Regions from separate parts of the Homo sapiens genome. Here regions 2 and 3 are each linked to region 1. The links are contacts of gene promoters, found by promoter capture Hi-C in blood cells and fetal thymus (Javierre and others, 2016). All regions are on one chromosome and are shown on one strand. Each heading gives the region's core, a stretch centred on a gene start or on the middle of the fragment in contact. The rest is flanking DNA. Distances are from core to core; before and after follow the strand shown. Region 1 holds the start of ADCY4 (adenylate cyclase 4). Region 2 overlaps DHRS4-AS1 (DHRS4 antisense RNA 1). Region 3 has its middle 50 kb from the start of GZMB.

The links. Contacts are between HindIII fragments. The CHiCAGO score rates a contact against its expected background, and 5 or more counts as called.
Region 2: a fragment that was not itself captured here is called in contact with the fragment with the promoter of ADCY4 in region 1 in 1 of 17 cell types (activated CD4 T cells); the score reaches 5.0 in activated CD4 T cells.
Region 3: a fragment that was not itself captured here is called in contact with the fragment with the promoter of ADCY4 in region 1 in 1 of 17 cell types (fetal thymus); the score reaches 5.0 in fetal thymus.

Annotation. Positions count from the first base shown.
Region 1 is chr14:24,333,527-24,336,504 of GRCh38, forward strand. It overlaps ADCY4 (adenylate cyclase 4), which reads right to left and starts at 1,545. Exons shown (of 25, transcript NM_001198568.2): 1 at 968-1,545. The coding sequence starts at 1,126. It overlaps RIPK3 (receptor interacting serine/threonine kinase 3), which reads right to left. Exons shown (of 10, transcript NM_006871.4): 10 at 2,499-2,869. The coding sequence ends at 2,649. RefSeq lists silencers at 182-281, 942-1,101, 1,172-1,251. The HindIII fragment of the contact is 4,552 bases long and covers 1-2,633 here.
Region 2 is chr14:23,947,223-23,950,200 of GRCh38, forward strand. All of the region lies in intron 1 of DHRS4-AS1 (DHRS4 antisense RNA 1), which reads right to left. Among named protein-coding and RNA genes, the nearest start is that of DHRS4, 5.1 kb to the right of the region's middle. The HindIII fragment of the contact is 7,541 bases long and covers 1-2,978 here.
Region 3 is chr14:24,683,193-24,686,170 of GRCh38, forward strand. No RefSeq gene overlaps it. Among named protein-coding and RNA genes, the nearest start is that of GZMB, 50 kb to the left of the region's middle. The HindIII fragment of the contact is 2,273 bases long and covers 396-2,668 here.

The DNA.
Region 1 (2,978 bases), core at 295-2,794:
CCTCCTGTTGTCCAACCTATTATCTTGCTGGGACAGCTACCCAGAAGATCTGGCTCCCATCCCCTATTTGTTTCTGAGCCTCAGTTTTCTTATCTGTCAAACGGGAACCAAAGCGTCATGAAGCAAGTGAAAGATAGATCCAAGCTCACAAGGAGGCACTTCGGAATGAATGTCTCCAAATCTGGCCAATTTGCTCGGGAGATTCCCGGAGCCGGGGACCGCGGCCGGCAGCTTGAAGGGCGGCGCGAGGCAGCGCTCGAGCAGCAGGGGGCGCCAGGACCCGCGGCGTCCCGCACCTCCCTGGCCACCAGGGCTGCGATCTCGCCACCTGCCTCAACTCCAAGCAGAAGCTGCACAGCCGTCCCAGCATTTTGTCCCCACCTCTTCCCGGATTTAGGCGTGGACCAGCAAGGATTGGCCGCGCCCGGTGATTTTCCCACCTTGCCTCCAAGCAGTGAAAAGAAAACCAGGGGCAGGCCATTTCTAGAATTGGATTGAAGACCTTCTTCCTCCCCAAACAGAAACTGGACATGGGTTTACTTTGGGACTCAGTGAGAGCCCGGTGGAGGGTGCCTTCTGGGAGTCTGTGGGTACAACTGCTCTACATCCCCTAAGAGGGAGAGAAAGGCAGGAAATGAATTCCCCAGGGGCCTCCTAGAATTTCCCCTTTGGAAAACTGGAAAATCCGGTGATGGATTTATTGTAGAACCCGTAGACCACGGATGTTCATAAAGTCTGTCAGAACCCGGACAGAAACGAGAAGCATCCAGGACTCAGCTTTCTCCCTGAGCAGACCCAGAAGGGTAGAGTGACTTGCCCAGGGTCACTGCAGTTCCTAGCCAGGCTCAATGGTCCTTTCTTTCTCTGCTCCCAGCAACGAAAACACATCGAAAAGAAGACCCCACAAACCCCAACCCCGAAAATGCTCCCCAGGTAGAGACCCTCCCGCAGCAGAGGCTCGGCTCACCCTGCCGCTGGCCCAGGCCACTGCGAGCAGCGCCGCGAGCGCACAGAGCACGATCCCCAGCAGCAGCAGCAGCAGCGGGTACTGCTGGCTCAGGCTGTAGTAGGTCTCGTAGAAGAGGTCTTCGCTGGGGGGCGGCCGGGGGCTGAAGAGGCGGGCCATGATCTCCCCAGCCCCGAGCCCCGGGGCTGGCTAGGGCCGGGCGCCGGGTTACCTCCTTCGGCCCGGCGGGCCCCACCTGAGCTTTTCTCACCCGCTCAAAGCCGCTACCACCCCGCGCCCCCAACCTCGTGGCAATCCCGTCTCCTTTTTCAGGCCCTCCCTGCGGCCTCCCAGCCCGCTCCCAGCTGGCGATGAGGGGATCCCTCAGTCCTTTCCTCCTCCTCCCTCAAACCCGGATTGTAGAGGTGCCCTAGAAAAGCCTCATCGCCAGGAGGGCAGGATTTGGGGTTGGTGCGAGGGAGCCCCGGGTTCCCCTGATCCCCGAACTCACTGCCCGCGGCGCTGGCGCAGCGGAGTGGGCTAGGTCCGGGGAGGGAGCCGGGGACCTGATGGCGGAGTCACGCTCGCCGCTGCGCTCTGGCTCAGAGTCCCGGGCGACAGGCGCTTCCCTCCCGGCGCCGCGGCCCCCTCCCACTTCCCCGACGGGACAGCCCGGCCCCTTCCTGTGCCAAAGCCGGACTCCCCTGGTCTCCTCCCGCACTTGGTTTTGTCTCTCCTAACACCATCGCCTCCCCGCTTCAGCCCCTTCAGGGAAGGGCAATGTGGACCCTGGGAGAGATGCGAAGGGGTGGGCTGGGGTGGACCCAATGGGATGTGTCCAAATGGAGGTGAACGTTTGGTAGTGGGGAGACCGAGGGCGGGGGGCTGAAGCCTGGCGAGAATGTAGGGAAGAATGTGGGTCCTGGTGGGGATCTAGGTCAGAGTTGGGGGCGCTCATTCTCTTGACCTCTCCGCTTGGCTGGCAACCACTACCACCGGGTTTGAACTGTTCATGCTCCGTGGGAGGGGTTGCGCCTGTGTATAGCTTTAGGAGCCATAGCTTTCCACTCCCGAACAGCAACTGGGAATCAAAAGGGAAGCAATGTCCAGGAAGCAACCTGAGTGTGTGGTGGAGGCAGGTATGTGGCGTCATGATCTCTAAGAGCCTGGGGGCACCGTGCGGGGCCAGGTCTGTGATCTTTCACATCAACTCATCCCTCGCCAGAGCCCTGCAAGTGAGTCTTGAGAGCCCGGAAGAAAAGGGACCACAGCCTCTATCCCCAGAGTTTAGGGTTAGGGTGGGGTCGCCATCCTAGGCTTTAGAGGAAGCACTGCCCTGAGATTAGAGAGTGGTCTGGGGAACCAGGCCTCTAGGATTCCTTCCTGTTGTAGCCGGCTGTGCCCTGACCTTGTGTGCCAGGCCATTGCCCACTCCCAGCCCCCAGCATCCCCACTTCCTGCCATAGCAGAGCTGTGGTGCCTCCCTATCCCTCACTGGCAGCTCCCACCCCCATCCCAGTCCCTCCCTGCCCCTGGCTGAGCTCAGACTGACTAGCATTCCATCATGTTTATTGACTCCTGGGGGACAGGTCACAAAGTCAGTTTGTGGGCAGGCCAGACTGCCCTAGAAGGAAGTCAGGGGCCTCAAGGGGTGGCACTCTTCCTTAACTCGTAACTCTTGGAGGCAAGCTTGGAAGGTGCTTTATTTCCCGCTATGATTATACCAACCCTGTGGCCTGCTCCAGGCTTCAGGATCTTTAGGGCCTTCTTGCGAACCTACTGGTGGGGGGTGCTGCAAGCCCCTCCCCTTGCCCGAAGGTGCCAAGCCCCATGTGGGCAAGGCAGTTGTCTGTTGCATAGTCAAGTAGTTGTTGTCTCCAACTTGCACCCCAGAGCAGTTGTATATGTTAACGAGCGGTCGCCCTTTAAGAGAAATAGTGATGGTGGCAGGAGGGTTTAGCTGTCAGAAAGGCCAAGTTGGGGGTGGGTGGGGAGTATGAAGTCTCTACTTGTCAGTGGCTGTGTCAAGGTG
Region 2 (2,978 bases), core at 333-2,832, 390 kb before region 1:
CGAATCCAGCAGCACATCAAAAAGGTTATCCACCATGATCAAGCCGACTTCATCCCTGAGATGCAAGGCTTGTTCAACATATGCAAATCAATAAACGTAATCAATCACATAAACAGAACCAATGATAAAAACCACATGATTAATTATTTAGATACAGAAAGGCCTTCGATAAAATTGAACACCCCTTCATGCTAAAAACTCTCAATAAACTAGGTATTGATGGGATGTATCTCTAAATAATAAGAGCTATTTATGACAAAGCCACAGCCAGTATCATACTGCATGGGCAAAAACTGGAAGCATTCCCTTTGAAAAAAGGCACGAGACAAGGATGCCCTCTCACAACTACAACTCCTATTCAACATAGTATTGGAAGTTCTGGCTAGGGCAATCAGGAAAGAGAAAGAAATAAAAGGTATTCAAACAGGAAGAGAGGAAGTAAAATTGTCTCTGTTTGCAGATGACATGATTGTATATTTAGAAAACCTTATCGTCTCAGCCCAAAATCTCCTTAAGCTGATAAGCAACTTCAGCAAAGTCTCAGGATACAAAATCAATGTGCAAAAATGACAAGCATTCCTATACGCCAATAACAGACAATAGAGAGCCAAATCATGAGTGAACTCCCATTCACAATTGCTACAAAGAGAATAAAATACCTAGGAATCCAACTTACAAGGGATGTGAAGGACCTCTTCAAGGAGAAATACAGACACTGCTCGAGGAAATAAGTGAGGACACAAACAAATGGAAAAACATTCCATGCCCATGGATAGGAAGAATCAATATCGTGAAAATGGCCATACTGCCCAAAGTAATTTATAGATTCAATGCTATCCCCATCAAGCTACCATTGACTTTCTTCACAGAATTGGAAAAAACTACTTTGAATTTTATATGGAACCAAAAAAGAGCCAATATAATGAAGACAATCCTAAGCAAAAAGAACAAAGCTGGACGCATGATGCTACCTCACTTCAAACTATACGGCAAGGCTACAGTAACCAAAACAGCATGGTACTGGTACCAAAACAGATATCTAGACCAATGGAACAGAACAGAGGCCTCAGAAACAACACCACACATCTACAACCATCTGATCTTTGACAAACCTAACAAAAACAAGCAATAAGGAAAAGATTTCCTATTTAATAAATGGTGTTGGGAAAACTGGCTAGCCATATGCAGAAAACTGAAACTGGACCCCTTCCTTACACCTTATAAAAAAATTAACTCAAGATGGATTAAAGACTTAAACATAAGACCTAAAACCATAAAAACCCTAGAGGAAAACCTAGGACATACCATTCAGGACATAGGCATGAGCAAAGACTTCACGACTAAAATACCCAAAGCAACAGCAAAAAAAGCCAGAATAGACAAATGGGACTTAATTAAACTAAAGAGCTTCTGTACACCAAAAGAAACTATAATTAGAGTGAACAGAGAACCTACAGAATGTGAGAAAATTTTTGCAATCTATCTATCTGACAAAGGGCTAATATCCAGAATGTACAAAAAACTTAAATTTACAAGAAAAAAAAACCATCAAAAAGTGGGCTAAGAATGTGAACAGATACTTCTCAAAAGAAAACATTTATGCAGCCAAGAAACATGAAAAAATGCTCATCATCACTGCTCATTAGAAAAATGCAAATCAAAACCACAATGAGATACCATCTCACACCAGTTAGAATGGCAATCATTAAAATGTCAGGAAACAACAGATGCTGGAGAGGATGTGGAGAAATAGGAACGCTTTTATACTGTTGGTGGGAGTGTAAATTAGTTCAACCATTGTGGAAGACAGTGTGGCCATTCCACAAGGATCTAGAACTACAAATACCATTTGACCCAGCAATCCCATTACAGGGTATATATCCAAAGGATTATAAATCATTCTACTATAAAGACACATGCATATATATGTTTATTGCAGCACTGTTCACAATAGAAAAACCTTGGACCAACCCAAATGCCCATCAATGATAGACTGGAAAAAGAAAATGTGGCACATATACACCATGGAATATTATGCAGCCATAAAAAATGATGAGTTCATGTCCTTTGCAAAGACCTGGATGAAGCTGGAAACCGTCATTCTCAGCAAACTAATGAAAGAACAGAAAACCAAACACTGCACGTTCTCACTCATAAGTGGAAGTTGAACAATGAGAACACATGGACACAGGGAGGGCAATATCACACACCATGGCCTTTTCAGGGGGGTGGGGGGCTAGGGGAGGGATAGCATTAGGAGAAATACTTAATGTAGATGATGGGTTGATGGGTGCAGAAAACCACCATGGCACATGTACACTTGTGTAACAAACCTGCACATTCTGCAAGTGTATCTCAGAACTTAAAGTATAATTATTTAAAAAAAGAAATTAAAAAGTGGGGATTGGAGCATAGAAGAAAGAAAAGAAAAGAAATTTGAAGGACAGTATGTATAGTGTCATTTCAATTGTGGAAAAAATTTTTAAAAGAAAAATGCATGTAAATGTACAGGAAACTTCTGGAAGGATACACAAAGCCAAGAGCTATATGGGAAGAAGGTAAAAGAACCATAGGGAAGAGTTACCTTTTACTTTTCAAATAATTTTCTGTCCCTTTTTAAAATAATGTGTTATTTATATAATTTAATGAGTAGATGTGTTGATTTGAAAAACACACTGATCCTGAAAGTTTAAATTCCAGTTGAGAGAAAATTGATTTCTATGAAAACTATGGATTGCCCAACAATGCCAGAAAACTGAAGTGTAACTATGCAACACACACAGTGGTCAAGGTTGTCATCAGTCACTCTGATTTCACATAGAGAATTTAAAACACCTAATTGGGTGCAGTGGCTCACGCCTGCTATCCCAGCACTTTTGGAGGCCAAGGCAGGAAGATCACTAGGTCAAGGGATCGAGATCATCCTGGCCAACATGGTGACACCCCGTCTCTACTAAAAATACAAAAATTAGCTGGGT
Region 3 (2,978 bases), core at 282-2,781, 350 kb after region 1:
TTTCCTGCTTCCTTCTAACATCTTTGTCCATGGTTTCTCAGTCTGTTTTCCTGGAGTCTCCTCTTCCCAGGCTCAGTCTGTCTCTTTATCTGTGCTTATTCCCTATGTAATCTCATTGAGTTCTATGGCCTTAAATACATTACCCATACACAGATGACTCCTGTGTTAACTAACTACTGTCACAGTAGCAGGTAGCCCCAATATCTCACTGCCTTACAAAAACGATTTATTTCTTGACCATTTACGCTAAGGCTGTGGGTCAGCTGTGGCTCTGCTTAGCTTTGCTAAACTCAGTGTGACTTATCCTAGATTGAAGAGCCCTTTTCTGGAATACGTTGTCTTATTGTGGAAAATAGAGCAAGAGAGTGCAACACAAACCATGAAATCATATTTAAAGCTTTTTCTCAGATATGTACATGTCCTCACATCTTATTAACTGAATTATTTCATGTATCCAAATATGTGAAGTGGAGACACATTGTCTCTCCGAAGAGGGAAGACAACTCACATGACAGAAAGTGAGTGAGGATAAATCATCCTATTAGACTATGGGAACAAATAATTGGGAATAATAATCTATCATGATCCAACATTGATCACATATATTTTCTTCCCTCAGAATACATCATATTCTTGCCCATAAAAACTTAGCCTAAGGGCTGGCTGACACCTGTGATTCCAGCACTTTGGGAGGTTGAGGCAGGAGGATCACTTGAGCCCAGGAGGTTGAGGTTGCTGTGAGCTGTGATCACACCACTGCACTCCAGCCTGTGTGACAGAAAAAGACCCCATCTCTAAAGTCATTTAAAAGCAAATTAGCCTAAGGGCCAACTTTGCTTTTCAAATAGTCACAGACTGGCAGCACTTTTGACAACCTAACTCTCTCAAACACTTTGTTGTATTGTTTTAATCTATTTGGTACTGGTTGGATCCATGTTCCAATAGACACAACCATTACTCATTTCAAGAAAGACTTTCTCTAGACTTGATTATGGGTATGTGGGTATATCATGCTTTCATAGGAACGTACTCTTGATCTCTTTTCCCTGAGCCGTTTTGTCCAGTGGTGGAAAAAAAAATGTCTGCAAGTCACCTTAATCCAACCAGAAATCTTAACATAGGCCTGATGATGACACCTTTGGTTCTGTCTTTGCCCTGAGATGGAGTATTAAAAGGCCTTTCTATTTCAAGGAATACTTAAATTTTATATTTTATAGGTGGGAGGTGAGAAGGATTTTATTGTCCAAACTTGAAGGCCCAGAATTTCTTTGCTGCCTATTTTCCATCTCATTCATTGAAATAGGTGAATTCTTTCTGAGCTCACCTCTTATTCATATTACCATCATGCTCTCTTTCAATTTTTCAATCCTTCTATATTTGTCCATATGCAGCAAGTCCATTAGGAACATTATCTGCCTTCCAAGTTTAGAAGACACAATTTGACCAAACTTTTCACGACTGCATATCATGAATCTTACTTGTCCAACCTCCTGGAAGAATTCCCTTGCTACCTAGCCCTAAAGTTAATGCCTCATATTTTATATTTTTAGATATGGTAGCACTTCTGTTACCAATTTTTTTATTAGTTGGCCTTTACTGAGGTTGCAAATAACTCCAACATATCAGTATTTAACAACAATAAACATTTATTGATTTCTTGTTCATGTTACATGAGGGCTGAGGGATTATCTGTGACTCAGCTCAGCTTGACTGTGTTCAAGTCCATGCGTCTTTTTATTTCAGGACCCAGAACTGATGTAGCCACCCTTATCTTGGACATATTGTTCTTATAGTGTGGAGAGCAGGAACAATAGAAACAGAGGTAAACCAGATAATCACATCAGAAACTTCTAGTTTGACATAGGAAACTTACATCTGGGTGGCCAGAACATGCTCATAAATTCCATGAGGAAGGAAGGTATAGTCATCCCTGGAAGAAAAAGTCACATGACCAGAAAGAGAGCAAATAGCTGGGGTCAATAATACAATCTTCTAAGACTCCCAGATGTATGTCTTTAGCACTGGCATCTCTTCCTTTTGAGCACCAAACATATATTTAACTGCCTACCCAACATTGCTATTGAGATGTCCAATAAGCATCTCAGATTTAATATGCCTTAAACAAAACTCCTGAGTGCTCTGTTCACCCCAACCTGTTATGCCCTGCCTTCCATACCTCAATAAATACCATCAGTATTCTCCCAGGTAATCAGGAGGAAACCTCCAAGTTTTATTTGATTCGCTTTTCCCTTTCATAGTCAATGCATGAGTAAATTCTGCTGGTTCTACCTTCAATATACATCCCGATTTCTTACCATCGCCAGCACCATCATCCTAATAATCTTCTAACTTGTCTCCCTGCTTCTATTCTTGCCTCCCTAGAATAAATTCCTCATACAGAAGACAGAGAGATCTTTGAAGCATGCAAACTATATCTTGTTAGTCCCTGCCCCAAACCCTGCAACGTCCTGGTTCCTACACAGACACTGGGTTTCTATTCTACATGGTCAAGTCAATAGTAGGTTCAGAGTGACAGAAAGATCAGTATTAGAAATTTATACACTTGGGTAAATCAAAAGAAATCTACTTCTCTAAAGGACAGTAAAAGCCCCTGTAGACTACACATCAAATGTATCAGCAACATTTTTCTGGACAAGTGGTGATTGTAAGCTTTTGGATCTCGAAATGTTTCATTAGCTATGAGTTCATGTCCTTTGTAGGGACATGGATGAAATTGGAAACCATCATTCTCAGCAAACTATTGCAAGGACAAAAAACCAAACACCGCATGTTCTCACTCATAGGTGGGAATTGAACAATGAGAACACATGGACACAGGAAGGGGAACATCACACTCTGGGGACTCTTGTGGGGTGGGGGGAGGGGGGAGGGATAGCATTAGGAGATATACCTAATGCTAAATGACGAGTTAATGGGTGCAGCACACCAGCATGTCACATGTATACATATGTAACTAA